Regions from separate parts of the Homo sapiens genome. Here region 2 is linked to region 1. Evidence: promoter capture Hi-C in human tissues and cell types (Jung and others, 2019). All regions are on one chromosome and are shown on one strand. The core of a region is centred on a gene start or on the middle of the fragment in contact, and the rest is flanking DNA. Distances in the headings are between cores, read along the strand shown.

Region 1 (7,261 bases), core at 3,071-5,570:
GGGGCCAGGAAGGGACCCCTGTCCTGCCCTGTATCCGGCCTGCTGCCATGTGGCAGCAGAGTTCAGCTCCTACCCATTCTGGGCCTCAGTTTCCCTACTTATAAAAAGAGGGTCTTTCCCTGGCCAATCTCTGAGGGACTCTTCAGCTTTGATTTTCTATAATTTGAGCTGCTGTACCTGCCAAACAGAAAGCCAGGGCCAGTGAGAGACACAGCAAGCTAAGGCAGGCTGGAGGGGGTGGGGGGAGGGGAAATCCCCCGTGCTGAGGCCACACATGTGCGTATTTTTTCCCCCTCTCAGAGAGACCCACACCCTCGTGGAGGGGAGACTGCAATCAATCAAGGAGGAAGAGCCTGAACGTTGTGTTGATGGACTACCCCGTGGTGTTCCATGGAAGCCCGGCTTGGTGCAAGGACACATAAAGAGGATTTATCTTTACGGGACGGCACCGGCAAGGCATTAGCACGTGGCGCCTCCGCGTCAGGCTCCTTATTCTCTGCACCCGACTCTCCTGTCACTCAGAATCTTAAATTTAAGCTAAAAAGCTGGCGACCACCCCCAGCTTGTCCCTGCAGCTCTCCCTGCTATGCCAATCCTGGATCAGCCCTCCTGAGCCTCCAACCCCAAGACAGGGGTGAATTAAGCTGCTCTGAGGAAAAGGCTGCTTGGGGGTCTCTGCTGGGACAGCAGCTGTGGCCACGACAGCCTCAAAGATGGGCAAAAAGGGAGAGGGAGGGCTATGTCTTCTCTGGGACCCCAGACTCTCTGGCCATCCCCAAGCTGGCTGCCTTTGTCAACTTGGTGGGGAGGGGACATACCAAGGGCCCATGAGAAGGGAGGCATTTGTCCGGAAAATTTCAGCAAGGGTGTACGGCATTTAGATACCAAAAAGATGGGCTCCAAGCTAAAAGCCTAACCCTGATCCCAAATGGTGGCTTTGCTGGAATCCCCCAGATCCTCAAACGACTCAGAGCTGCTGCCGCTGCTTCTGTGAGGGGCAGCAGAGATGCTGGCCAGAGCATGAGTCAGCTGCGGGTAAACCTTGCACCATATTGCAGGGGCTGGAATTAAGGACCAGAGACAATTTGGGGTGGGAGGGAGCTCAGCTTCAGAACCACGGCTGCCCTGGCTGTACAGGGCAGGGGCCACAACAAAATGCTCTTAGGTGTTCCTTAAGGAAGGATGTTAGATGCAATCGAAGATAAAAATTAACTCTCTTTCTGGGGCTGGGGGAAAGGGTTGTAGCTGGCTTTTTGCCCAACTTCTTTCATATTCCTTAGCAGACACTTGTGCTTCTCTGATCCTCAGTTTCCCTATCTGTACCGTCTTTACTAATGTTGGGGACTGAGGGACAGGGGCCCTGAGGGCAGGCTGCTACACAGCTGGGAGTTTTTTTGTGGACTTCAGTTTGCTCAAACGTTAGGGCTGGTTTTGCCAAATGAAAATGGGCTTAGACGAACATTTCGCAGCCTGAAAATGCAGTGACAGCCAACTCTCAATTGCTTGGGGTAATGGAGGCAAAGATTGCATAAATTAATGAAATCAACAGATAACACCCATCTTCACTTTAACCCTTTCTCAGCTTTTCCCAACTGCAGCCTCCCCCTACACCTGACCCACTCAGTCCAGGCCCCCCAGCCCTGTCCTCCTGGCCCTGACTCAGCACCTGCCCCTCAACCACTGAGCAGTGCTGGCCACCCCCCACCCCGTTTGTTTGTTTGCAGCCTCTTTACAGTCTTGCGTGTGCTTTTCTAGGGAGTCTTAGCTCTGAGATCCCCAGAGCCCTGTCCATCACTGGGCTTCCATGACCTGGACAGGCAGCCTGGGGTCTGTGGTCCCACCGGCCCAGCTGTATGTGTATTTTGTGACTCTTTATTCAACAGGCAGCTCCCTGGCCCCCACGCCATGTTCCCTCTAGGTGCTGGGTGCTGATGGCGCAGAGAAGAGCAAAATAAAGTCCCTACCTCTGAGGAGGCATTCGGTACCCACAGGAAATTTATAAACAGATCTTTAGAATACAGGGCACGGAGTGTGCAGGAATGAGGAAGTGAGGAACACCAGCAACAGGAGACTGGGAGGAGGTGGTAGGGGCTAGGGCAGGCAGGTAAGGACGCAGAGCTGAGGTGAACAAAGGCGAGTGCCAACCTCTATCACAGAGCTCCCCGTCCCAGCCGTCGGTGCAAATGCACTGCCCGGGTTCTCCACAGAGTCCGTGAAGGCAGCCGGGAGAGGTCACGCACTGGTCACAAAGGGGACCCTGCCAGCCAGGCTGGCACCTGCAATGGGTGGGGGAGAAAGGTGGGGACATATGAAGAGGGCAGGGGTAGAGAGGCAGCTCAGGCTACTTTCTGTGGAACCAAGGACCCTTGGGGGTCTTTGCACAGTGGCAGCCGGTGGTCCTGGGAAGTAAACACCAGCCACCTGAATGGGAAAACTTAAAGAGAAAACATGCCAAGCTGAGGGGGCCGACTTGGAGGGGCCCCGAGATCCCGGGGGAGTGCTGCGTTTTGCCGCAGTGGCCTGCAGTGGTCCCACCTGCCCCCCCACCTCTGAGAACGCAGACAGGAGCTGTGGCTGCCCCCCCCCCGCCCCCCCCATCTCCCCAGCTCGCCCCACCAGTTTTCTGCAGGGGCCCGGAAGCTGTTTGCTGCAGCGTAGTGGCCAAGCCCCCTATTTTTTTCTGCCTGACTTCACGACTCCCCAGGCTTCTGCGTGGCCCCTACAAGCTGCCTCTGAGGAGCCACTCTATTACCTGCAAACATTGTCATCCTCGCAGAATCCATTTTGGGGGTTGCAGGCCGGGAAGCATTCAGCCCCTGAGGTACAAGAAAGGTTATACAATTCACCCCACCAGGCCCCAGGCCAAGGCAAAGGCTGTCTTCGCCCACACAGCCCACCACTGCCCTCGAGGGCACCAACAGCCCTCTTGGGTCCTACCAGCCTGGCACACAGTAGGCACTTCCTATCCGAGCATGGATGGGGCTCAGTGCACTCAGGAAAAACATCTCTGCCACGTTCCCAGCAATGAAATGACCACAGTACACTCTCCCTCGTTCTTAGGAGCAGGAGAAACACCTTCTCCTCGGACTCCCAAAAGCAAATACGACACCTCAAGTCCTCCTAACAGCGGGGACGGGGACCGTGGAGGGAAATATGTTGAGCCCTGGGCATGCAGCCTGACCGTCACTTTTGCAACCTGAGCTGAAAAGAGGAGCAGATTTTGAGGTGTTCAACTCCGGGAAAGCCCAGACAGGTTCACCTGGTGGGCGCCCCAGTAAGGCGTCTGCATTCTTTTTAAGGTTCATCCCTATTAAGCCGGGCACCCAGGTCAAATCTTCCCTCTTTCCCCTACCCCAGACTCTTCGCATTAAAAAAACGATGACGACACAGGGTTTTGCTTAGCGGGCTGAGGTTGCAACAACACTGCTTAGAGATTCTGACACTTTAACAGGCACCTACTGTGTGCATTTACTCAACCAGCTCCCCAGCTTTCTAGACAGCCCCCTTACAACCACTGGTGCAATGAGTGGGGGGGCGCTGCAGGAAGGGGGCAACTCTCTCGCTGTCAGAGACAGATGGCCGCTGCAGACAGAAGTGTCGCAGCCCCTCACCTACAGAAACGCGCCACGCAGGAAGGGCTCAGGCTGGGCTTCTCTGGGAATTGGGGGCTAAGACGGCAAAGTCGTCCCCCACTCCCGCCCCGAGACCTGTTCCAGAACGCTCACACAGGGACACCCCAAAGTTGCACCCCAGAGTATTTTCATAGAAGACTCCACAACAGCACCCCATTTTTCCATACCTCCTTGCTCAGCGCACCGACACCCCTCTGGCGCCACTTCTGCAGGGCGGGAAGGGGCTGGGGGTCTCACACATCCCCTGCGCCCTGGGACCCCTGGGACGGGCCTTGGCATGCGAGCGTGGTGGGTAGGGCGAGACAGGCACAGCGCGGGGCTTAGGGCTAGGCGGGACGGGCGGAGTTGGGGCTCACGAGACGGGGCGTGCGGGGCACCGGGCGGCCGGCGGGGAGTCGCAGGCTTCCCCAGAGGGGGCGCGAGCCGGGCCGCCGGGGAACTCACCATAGGTGCTGTGGCCGAAAGCCAGCAGGAGCAAGAGGACGCGCAGGAGGGCTTCGGTCGCGGTCATCTCTGGGCGGCCGGGGTCGCGGTCCCGGGAGCGGTGCGGGCGCGGGTCCGGCTCCTGGCGCCGCACTGGGCTTCTGGTTGCGGACGCGAAAGGGGGCGCGGGCGCGCAGCGAGGGGAAAGCCAGGGCTGCACCGGGCTGCGCGCTGCGCTCTCCACCGCCGCTGCCGGGGAGCTGCCGCCGCCGCCGCGCGCGCCGCCCTTTTCGTACCGCCTCCCCCCTCGCGGCCCCCGCCCCCCGCCCCCGCCTCCGTGCGCACGGGGCCGGCGCCGGCCAGTCCCTGTGACCCCCTCCCCTCGCAGGGCCGCCCCCGACCACGGCGGCGTCCCAGAAGCCCGCTCGCGCACACGGGTGCACTCTTGGCTAGACGGGCACAGGTATCCCGCGAGCGTTTGGTACACGTTCCCTCACACTGTACAGCACGCGGCCGCCGCGCACATACAGGCCTGCCTAGGACAAGTCGCAGGAATCGAACCTGGGCCGCAGACCTCCCCGGAGAGCACAAATCCGCACGCAGGAACACCGAAACACTTATCGCTGAAGTCCCGGGCACACGTGCAATGGTTAGATACCCAGGAAAACACAAAGGCGCACTATGAAGATGTGAACTAAGCACATAATTACACACGCACACAGAAAAACCCCCAGGAAAAGCCCGACGCCCCCTGTACCCCTGGCCATGAAGACGCAGAAAAATGCAGTTGCCCCGTGGCAACCCACACCCCGCAACGGAAACGCACACGGCAACTCAAACACACTGTAGCCCAGACGCCGTATAGACACAGTCCTAGGTGGCAGAGGGTCAAGCGGACCTGCGGTTACCCAACCATGGGCATCCTCCCCCATGTGCCGACCCCCTGCACACAGACGCTTACGCAGAGCCACCTGCACACCCAAACACGCAAACACACGTATAAACAGACGGACACCCGTGCCCGCATTCAGTCACACCCACCCCCGCACACACAGCATCTCAGTCAGGGCCTTAGCCGCGCTGAAACACAAATGCACCGACTCTTACGCACACATGTACGCACAGCCATGCACCTGATACCCACAAGCACACATACCCAGCTGACTCGTGGTCACACACACTGACAAAAACATATACGCAGTCCCCACACACACACGATCGCATCTGTCTTTGTCCACAGTGGCATGCATGGGCAGCCTCACCAATGTGCTCTCACATACACACAATAGCACTCCAGGCACTCGGCACGTATTCCAGACTCACTGGGAGACCTTCTCTGAGGGGTCGCCCGCTGGAGAGGTGGAGGTAGAGGATGCTGATTGCCAGAGACCCTCTTCCTCTGCAGAGCTCCCAGGGAGAGGGAGTGCTCCTCAGACACCCCTCCTCCCCATTGCCCCCGGCTTAGGCTTAGAGCCCTGCTGGAGAGGAAAGCTCTGCACCCCTGCACCCAGTCTGGATGGGGGAGGCTCAGAAAGATAGGGAGGGAGAGGGGTAGGAGGGGATTAAAGATATTTCACCTCCTGGGGGAAGGGTCCCAGGCGTCCCAATCTTTGGGTGGGTCGTTTAGGATACTTAATTTGCATATATTAATTTGCATACATATCCTAGATGCAGGGAGTGGGTGCCCACCCAGCTCGCGGCCTCCCCTTCTTCACAGTGCTGCAGGGGGGTGTGATCTCACCACTGTGAACCTGGAGGCTGGATGCTTTGACCTCCTGGCCCTCTAGTCCAGCCCTGGCAGGTCTGAGCACAGATTTCCCATCTTAGCCATAGATGTGGGAAGGCAGGCCCATGGGCATCCCCAGGCCCACCACCCCTAAGTCAGTGCTCCAGTAAGGCACTCGGGATGGGTACAGGGATGGACAGAGACCAGAGCTGCTCTGGGCTGGCTCCAAGGAGGCTGGAGGGAAACTCCCAGCCCCTGGTGGAAGATATCCCTTCCCTGATGTTATCTGCAGAATGCCCAGATAGGTAGGGGCTGCTGGGAACGGCTTTGGGGACAGGCTGTAGGGAGCAGTTGGGGTGCCCACTGTGTGCCTGCCACATGCCCTTGCATTCCTGTGACCCTACTTTCTTCCGTGGACTCTTTCCTCAAGTCAAGAAACCAACTTCAGTGATGGAAGGTCCTTTGCCCAAGGCCCTTGGCCTAGAACGAGAGTGTCTGGCTGACAGGCCCAACCCTGGGTGCCAATGTCCACTGCATGGTGATCGCCAAGGTCTTCCTGACCAGGGTTCCTCTCTTCCCTCCCTTCGAGGCCCCTGACTTCAGCCTCCAAAATTATCCCAACAGCAGGCAGACCTGGAAGAGCTGAGTTCTCAGCCAGAAGCCAAGGAGGGGTGGAGGATCTCAGGGCTGGGTAGCCCTGGGGCAAGGGCCTCCCAGGCTCTTGCCAAAGTCCCGCAGAGAGGAGACTCCCTGGACTGCATGGAGCACTTAGGGGGCCCCAGTGTCCCCACCCACACACATACCTAGACTCCTCCCTTCCCCATCCAGGTTCTTCCCCCTTCCCACCCCCGCCCCCAGCCCCACCACAGCCCTCCCCAGTTTAGGAAAGGGAGGGAGGCCAGAGGAGGGTATTCTCGCCCAAGGGAGTCTGTCAAAATGTCACAGGCTTACGCTGAAAGGGCACTGCCTTGGCTTGGGGGGCACCTGCTCTCTAATCCTATCTCCATTTCGTGCCCACCAAGGGCCCAGTCTCTTCCATCTGTGAGCCCTGTTTCTTAGCCCATAAACAGGAATGTCCCACCTGTCTCTGAAAGGAACTCCGGTTTTTGTAAGCAGAAAAGCACTGTGCTGACAGGGCCTGGTCACAACCCCTTCCAGCCATTCCTCCAACAGCTGCACCCCAGAGCCCTTGCCCCCGCCAGCTAGAGGATCTCCAAGGCGGGCACCCAGGCTCCACTGGACCCGGGCCCTCTTCAAGAGCCCCATGCAGGGACACTTGAGGGATGGGAGGGGACTTTCTTGTCTCACAGGACCTACAAGCCAGGAAGATTTCTGTTGGCTTGCTCTAATCTTAATAAAGCGTTTGTAAATTCAGGAGGCCGGAGCTTTCTTTTCAGCAAGCAGACACTGAGAAAGGGTAGCTTAGGAGCGGTAGGGAGGGGAGGTTGGTGACTGTCACAGACTTTAAGTCTGCACAGAA
Region 2 (7,248 bases), core at 4,460-6,959, 170 kb before region 1:
ACTCTCCCTCCCAGTCCCTGCCTCCCCGAGCCCTCCAGCTCTCTCCCTGACCCCTGGCTGGAAAAGGGCCTGAGGGTACCACTCTTCAAGGCAGAGCGGCCACCTGATGAGCCCTTCCCTGGGACTCTGGTCCCAATTTGGTTACTGGGACAACGCTGTCTCCCATTAGACACGCTTTGAAGGAAGACCCTGGAGTGACCGGCTCAGTCATGCTGGGAAGGATTCAGCTGTCTAGCTTTCAAATGCCTTTTTTTTTTTTTTTGGCTTTTTTATTTCTTTTGGAAAGATAAGAGTTGATGCTTTTACCCTAAAACTGTGTGCCAAGCCGCTCTGGCTATCCTCAGCCCCACTCTTCCCCTATCTCTGTAGCCCTCCTTTCCGTCCTTCATAGGCTGCAAGCTGACTGGCGCCCGACCCCAGGTCCACACCCACCTCCCTCTACCCCCTGGTCCATGCACCACTCCCGGCCTCCTCCCCCACTCTTCTCTTTCTGGCCCCGCTGCAGAGTCTCGGGCCCCTCGGCTTCCTGGGCGCCTGGCCACCACGCAGCGCCTGGAAGTGCTCCCTCCCTCATCTCTCGTTCCCCACTTTGGAAAGCCGGCCACCGGACAGGACAGCTCCCGGGACAGCTCCCGCAGCCTGCTGCATTGCAGCGCAGCCGTCTGTGAGGGAGGGGCGCAACCTGCAGCCCCCGCCCCCCGCCCCGACCACCCCCGCCCAGCAGCCCCCAGCCCCGGCACGGCCGGCTCCCCCGCCGCACCGCACGCATCTGTCGCAGTTAAAAGCGCCGCTGCCAGAGCAAAAGCGCCGGTCCCTCTTGACTGTCCCCCTCCTCACTTTTCGGGCTCAGAAATGTGGCCCAGGCAGCCCCCTTGTGGCACGTGGGGGCGCCACAGACTCTTGGCTGGTGTCTGAAGAATTCAGACTGTCTGATTCCACCGCACCGTGAGTTGGCACAAATCTTCGGTGGCCCAACTCCTACCCGATGCAGAACTCTGCTCAGCGGCCTCTCTGAGTGGGGGGCACCTCTCCCCTCCCCTCTCCCCGTCCACACCTCTCCCTTCTCCCTCCAGGGAGGAAGCGAAGGAACTCTCCTGTTGAATATTGCTCTGACAAGCAGACAGGTGTCTGGCAAACGTGATTGGGGTGGTGGGGGAAGGGGGGGGCCAGGAGGGTGGTGGGAATGGGGGCTTTTCTCGAAATGACGTTTGGTTTCCATCTCTTATCTCACAGATGGGAAACCGAGGTGCGGGGAGGGCCATAGTCCCTGTCTGTGTCAGAGTCAAGGCTGGAGATCCTCCTCCAAGTCCAGCCTGGGGCATTTCCCTGAGGTGCCGGGGCACCCTTAAGACGTACCCCTCTTCCCCCTCCCACTTGTCCAGCCCCTCCAGATCTGGTTCTCCCCGTCCGGAAGCCCTGGAGGGCCCCTGGATGTTCTCTGTCCTCTCTAACTCACTGTCCACACAAACAAGCCCAGCCCCCTCCGTCTCTATCTGCAATCTACTTGCAGACAGGCAGGGCCCTCTCCACATCAGGTTAATAATGCCATTTTCATAAGCCTCTGCCCATAGGTGCTACCACCTAATTTTGAATCTGCCCTTCAAACGGATTGGGCCACAGAGGAGCTGGGATCTCAAGCACCGCTGGGAGGTGCTTATAACTAATCAATCCGTCCCCTGCCCACCCACACCCCCCCAGCACTCGGCACAGCCTCGCTGAGCAGCCTTCAGCAGCAGGGTGTGGTGGGGAGCCTCGGAGAGTCTGGGGTTCCATCCTGGCCCAGCCTCACACCAGCTGAGAGACGGTGAGTATAGGACTTTGCCTTTCTGTGCCTCAGTTTCCTCATCAATCTAATGGGGCTCATGAGACCAGTGTGCAGGGTTATTGCCCGGGTGAGTTCTTTGCAGACAGCCCAGTTCGGGACTTGGCTCCAAGACGGGGCTCCATAAATCTCCATGCCTGCACCCCCTCTTGATCACCTCAATTTCCAGTGTCTTATTCCCTGTTTGTTTCCCCCACCAGACCGACTGAGCTTCGAGGACAGGAAGCCACCGGCATCACTAAGCCACCGGCATCACTTCATCCCCAGCCTCACGCTTGGGACTGGGCCCGGGGAAGGTAGGTACACTGTGGTGGCTTGGAGAATGAGTGCATGGATGGATGTCTGTCCCATAGTCTATGGGATGCCCGGACCCCGCTGAGTTTCTCCTCCCCAGACCCCTGTCTAAGCTGGCCCTTCAAGGAAGCCGCCGGGAAAAACTGTTCCTTTATGCCTTCATGCTTTACCCCTCGTGCTGTTATATACAATGCAAATTCTCGGTCTATTAAATGCAGATGTGGGCTCTGCATGTCATTTATGCTGCCTGCTGCATCTACTGTGAGTTCCACAGGCCGGGGGCTGCCTCCGGCTGACTTGATTTGTGCGATTAAGCCAGCAGAGGGGACTCTGCCAGGAGAGGTTCCCGTTTGTATTGGGAGCAGGGTCTTGAAAGGCCAGGCTGTTTTCTCTCTTGCGACACTTGTTACATACCTCTCTCTCCCTCCCTGGGTCCCACCGTCTACTCCACAAGCATTTATGAAGTGTCTGATGTGTGCAAGCCTACACTTATCTCATTTAGTCCTCACTTCACGCCAGTGACGGAGAAACTCTCATCTCCATTTCACAGGGGAAAAGCCGAGTCTGAAAAGTAAAGGGAATTGTCTTGCAGCTAGAGAGCAGGGAGTCAAGCCGGTCTGCCTGGCTCGGGAGCCCCCAGCCCTGCTGTGGCTGCCTACTGCTGCTGCTGCTGCTGCTGCTGCTACTGCAGGGCTGACCAGGGCTGGCCGGGAGGCCAGCAGCTCCTGCAGAAAAGGCAGGGGGCTGCATACAGAGCGTTCTCCCTAGCAACTGGAAAAGGGGCCATAGAAAACCCAAGAGGGCTGAGAAGCCGCTCAACAGATAGACATGGAGCAGCTGGCCCCAGGAGGGGAGCACCACGCCCTCCCCTGGGCTTTTAGCAGAACAGCAGGGCAAAGGGCTCTGTCCCAGGTCTAAAAGAACAGAGACAGAGGTGTTAGGACAGGTGTAGAGGCGCCCAATCCTGTTCCCACCATTGGTGGGGGTATTGCCATTCAGCACAGAAAGGAGAGGACTGAAAAGAGAGGGAGCCCACAGCCTGCAGAGATCGGAGGGCAGAGGGGGCAAGGGGGCTGCTGCACAGCCGAGGAGGCAGATGCAAAAGGCAGGGGAGGGCTCAGCAAAGCAGCTCTGCGTGCGAGCCCTGAGCAGGCTGCCTGGGGAGAGAGGGAGCTCCCTGTTACAGGAGGCATCCGAGGGGAGAGAGGCAGGCCAGTGCTTGGCTGAGAAGGCTGCAGCACGGTTTCCTGCCCAGGCTGGCAGCCCACATGTTTAGGCCTTTGAGAAGCTCCCACAGCACCAACTCCTGAGCAGGCAAGCGGGCAAGTGAGCGAGGTGGCCAGAGGGGACCAGGCAGGGGTCAGTATGAGGCCATTTGGCCTCTCCCGAGTAGCTTGCCCTGGGCTAAATGGCAAAGGCACAGAGATGGTTGGCGGGGTGCCTCTGTCCCAATAAGGCAATGAGGGAGAGGAGCAGAGAATGGGGTTGAGTGCCCAGGGCTGGTGGGGGGAGGTGGGGACTGTCCTGCTGCCAACTCCCCTCTTGAGGGCCAGAACACCTAGAGTGGCCAAGCACCTGCCCTGGCTCCTGAGCCCACAGAGGCTGGCCTGTGTCCTCTCTGGGGCAACAGGCTGGCAGAGTGAGTGGAAGGAGCGAGGAGGTCTGGCAGGTTGAGGGGCCCTTTTCTGGAGGCTGAGCAGCAACCACAGATGCAGCCAGCTGCCAGACTGTGACTTACATGTTCAGTGGACTCATGAAAGCTCCTCACACAGTGACAGGGCTGGGGTGCCGGCCTGCTGATGAATGCAGCCCACACGGGAGTCGGGAGCTGCCTCTCCTGGCCCATTCACAGGGGTTCAGTTCCCAGGAACTGTGGGACCTTTATCAGGGGACCTCTGCTAGACAAGGCTCTGTTCTGCAGTTTCCAAAGGAGTTTTCTGCCTTATGCTCCCAGTGCAGGCACTCAGCATGTGTGTGTGCGCGCATGTCTGTGCGTGTGCGTGTGTGCATATGGGGGATGGCTGCGAGGCCAGCCAGGGCTCCTTGTCTGTGAAATGCCCAAGGTCCTCGGGGGCAGAGATGCACCTCCATGGAGCAGAAAAATTTCAAGGAGGGCAGAGTCATTCAAGGATGGAGCCCATCCTCACTGCAGCCTCATTGTCCTGCTCCTGACAACCCAATCTGTCAGCCCTGGGGTCGCCACAGCTGCTCCGACCCGCCGTGGGGGGGCAGCATCGTGTTGCAGGTGGAGTGCGCAGGCTGGTTTGCCTTCCTGGCTAACAGACAGACAGACGGCCCTGGCAGCTCAGTTAGGCACTGCAAGCCCTTCGGGAAAAACTGTTTGTTTCTCGGGAGCCTCTGTTTTTGTTGGTTTTTGTTGGTGCTGTTGTTTTAACCTATTAAAAGGTTGATTTGAAGCTGCAGGTGTGAAAATGTTTGGGAGAGTGACATTTACATGTGTCATTTACATAAACGGGGGAGGGGGCGCGATGCAGGGTGCAGAACAAGAGGCACCCACATGGGAAATTCTGTGAACAGGGATTTCTGGTTCAGGATAGCTGGTGGTGCAGAAAGGGTTCTGAAGGGCTTTGGTGTAGATGTGAAAAGTCACCGACCCAAATCCCTATTTAGAGGCAGACGCCACAGGGCAGCAAGCCCTTTAGCCCCTGCCGGACACGGAGGGAACACTCCCCCTACACTCCTTTTTGCTGTGGTTCCCTTGCCCCGTTGCTTGAGGAAGTTAGGAAATGGGATTCTGGCATGAAGCGCAGGGTTAAATTGCAGAGACCTGGACAGCTCTACATATGGCCGCAGAGAAATAGCCCCAGTATCAGACATGTGCCTGACCAGGCTCACGCTCCCGAGTAAACAAATCAAACATTTCGGAGAGCGGAGCCTTTGTTCACAGCGGCCGAGGAGGTTCCCTTTTGTGTAAAGGGCAACGTGCAAGTCATGCTTCCACTAGGTAAGGCTGTACTAACACACAAAAAGCTCATTTAGCCTGAGCCCAGCCCAGGGAGAATTTTCTGTGAAATTTAGGAGAAGTCAGGTTTGGCCAGAAGTTTTTCCAGGAATTATGAACCTCTGGAGACTGTAACCACTGTTCCTTCCGAGTGACCCTTGCCAAAGTCTGTAAAATATGAGCCTCAAAAAATCTGCCTGTGGAGAAGTCTGACTTTTTATATGTTATTTACATAAAAATAAACTCTCACCAAACTTTTCGGGAAACCCGATTCAAAGTGGTAGGGCAGCCCCTTCCCCGGCCCCCAGGTGTTCAAGAAAGCACACTTTTCCCTGGGAAGATGTCTGGGAGGGAGGCGAGCATCAGCTTTTATTGCCCCTCACACTCTCTCTGGCATTTGTGTTGTCCTCTGTTGGGTCTCCCTGCCCTGAAAGGGAGCAGCTGCCCGTCTCAGGGAGGGGGTTAAGCATTTCATGACGGGGTAAGATGGGGAGAGCTACCGAGTTTTGCTGGGTACTGCGTGTTGGCTACTGTGCTGGATGATTTATTTGCGTTATTTCCTCATTGAGATCTCAATAGCCCTGTGTGAGAGAGATTATGAGTCCTTTTTTTTTTTTTTAATATCAGGAAACCAAGGCACAGAAACACTTGGGGATTTGCCAAGGACACGCAGCTCAAGTCTGTTCTGTAGCTGGGTCTGTGCTCAGGGTGGCTGGCTTCCTGCAATGCCTCCTTCTCCCTTCCCCTGGGAGAGAAAAAAAGGGACCAAAAGCCCAAACACTGCCAGTGGCTCCTGTTACTCCTGACAAGCTCCCCAGGGGGATGCTGCCTTGGCCTCACAGCTCCTCTCCCCCAAAGCCTGTGCTCTTTTTAGAATATGACTCGGTCCCAAAGGTCCCAGCACTTGCTCTCAGCCCTGTCCTTCCCCAGAGCCCCTCATCGTTACTCCAGTCATCACATGTCCTCCTCCTGTTCTGGGACCAGACCCGTTTACCTCTGGCAAGGAGGAGCCATAATGGCAATCAGCCATTTCCAAGCTGTAATCATACCCCGAACCTCATCCCCAGAACTCACAACACTGAGACGCTACTCCCGCGCTGTGGACCCCATGACTCTGGGTTCTGGGGCCCGGCACAAGGCAAGCATCAGGGGAACGTGGTATAGCGCAGGCTGGGGCAGTGGGGGGGTGCCAGCCTGAGCCCCACCCAGAAGGGTGTTTGCAGCTTTACAACACTGCAGACTTACCCAGCGCCACGGGACAGATGACACGATCCTCCGACACTGCCCATCTGCCCATCGGTGCAAGAAAGAATTCGAGGCAGTTTTCACTGAGGCAAAGTCAGACCCAGGCAACACTGGGGGAGCCCAGGGCTCCTAGAAAGGGACAAAGGAAGGAGGGTGAGTAACAGTTGACCAGTTTCATCAATTCTAGAAAAATGCAAAACATTCCCTTTAATTGGGAAAAAAATGTCAATGAGGCATCCCACTTCCAGGGTCAGGGCTTCGGTGGGCTTCTGAACACAGTGTTTCGTGGGGCCCATCTAACTTTGGGCTCCCCAACAGGGATATTTCAAGCCTGCTCTTTAAGGCCGGGGAGAAACTGGCTGAAAAGGCACGGCCGCGCAAAGCCTAAGAAGTAGGGAGCCCGCTGAGAGAAACAGGTAGCCCCGTGGGGGTGAGGTGCGCCTAGCAGGTAAACACCAGTGGGGAGGGGCTGAGGCTGGCAAGTTCCAAGACAGACCCTAAAGGGTCTTCCATGCCAGGATAAGGCCTTATTTTTTGGACCCCGTCCCGGAAGCTCCAGGAAGTCAGATGGAGGCTTTAAAGCAAGACAGTAACAAGGTCAAAATGCCATTTTAGAAAGATCACTCAATGAAAATAAACTTTTGCAAACAATTTAACCCACCACCCCATCTCTAAGAAGCTGGGGTAAAGGAACAGTCGAGGATGTGTTTACAGATTTAGCTGCAAGAATGCTCACTGCAGTGTCGTTGGTAACAGCAACAAAAAATGGAAACAGCTTAGATCTTTTTTATCGGGCATTAGTTGAGCAGAATCGTATTAATTAAAACCTCGATTTGTGACACGCTTCCTCACTGATCTGCATTAAGCACCATTTTTATGTATTCTTTTTTAAAAAATAATTTAATGAACACCTATGAATCTGTGA

The links. Contacts are between HindIII fragments. The study calls those that stand out against the background at their distance.
Region 2: a fragment that was not itself captured here is called in contact with the fragment with the promoter of DLK1 in region 1 in 1 of the 25 tissues and cell types used here (H1 embryonic stem cells).

What each region holds. Positions count from the first base shown.
Region 1 is chr14:100,723,951-100,731,211 of GRCh38, reverse strand. It overlaps DLK1 (delta like non-canonical Notch ligand 1), which reads right to left and starts at 4,320. Exons shown (of 5, transcript NM_003836.7): 1 at 4,077-4,320; 2 at 2,753-2,816; 3 at 2,146-2,276. The coding sequence starts at 4,143. The HindIII fragment of the contact is 15,317 bases long and covers 1-7,261 here.
Region 2 is chr14:100,898,161-100,905,408 of GRCh38, reverse strand. It overlaps RTL1 (retrotransposon Gag like 1), which reads left to right and starts at 1,687. Exons shown (of 4, transcript NM_001134888.3): 1 at 1,687-1,804; 2 at 2,023-2,118. It overlaps MEG8 (maternally expressed 8, small nucleolar RNA host gene), which reads right to left. Exons shown (of 51, transcript NR_146000.1): 5 at 6,324-6,452. The HindIII fragment of the contact is 4,695 bases long and covers 3,362-7,248 here.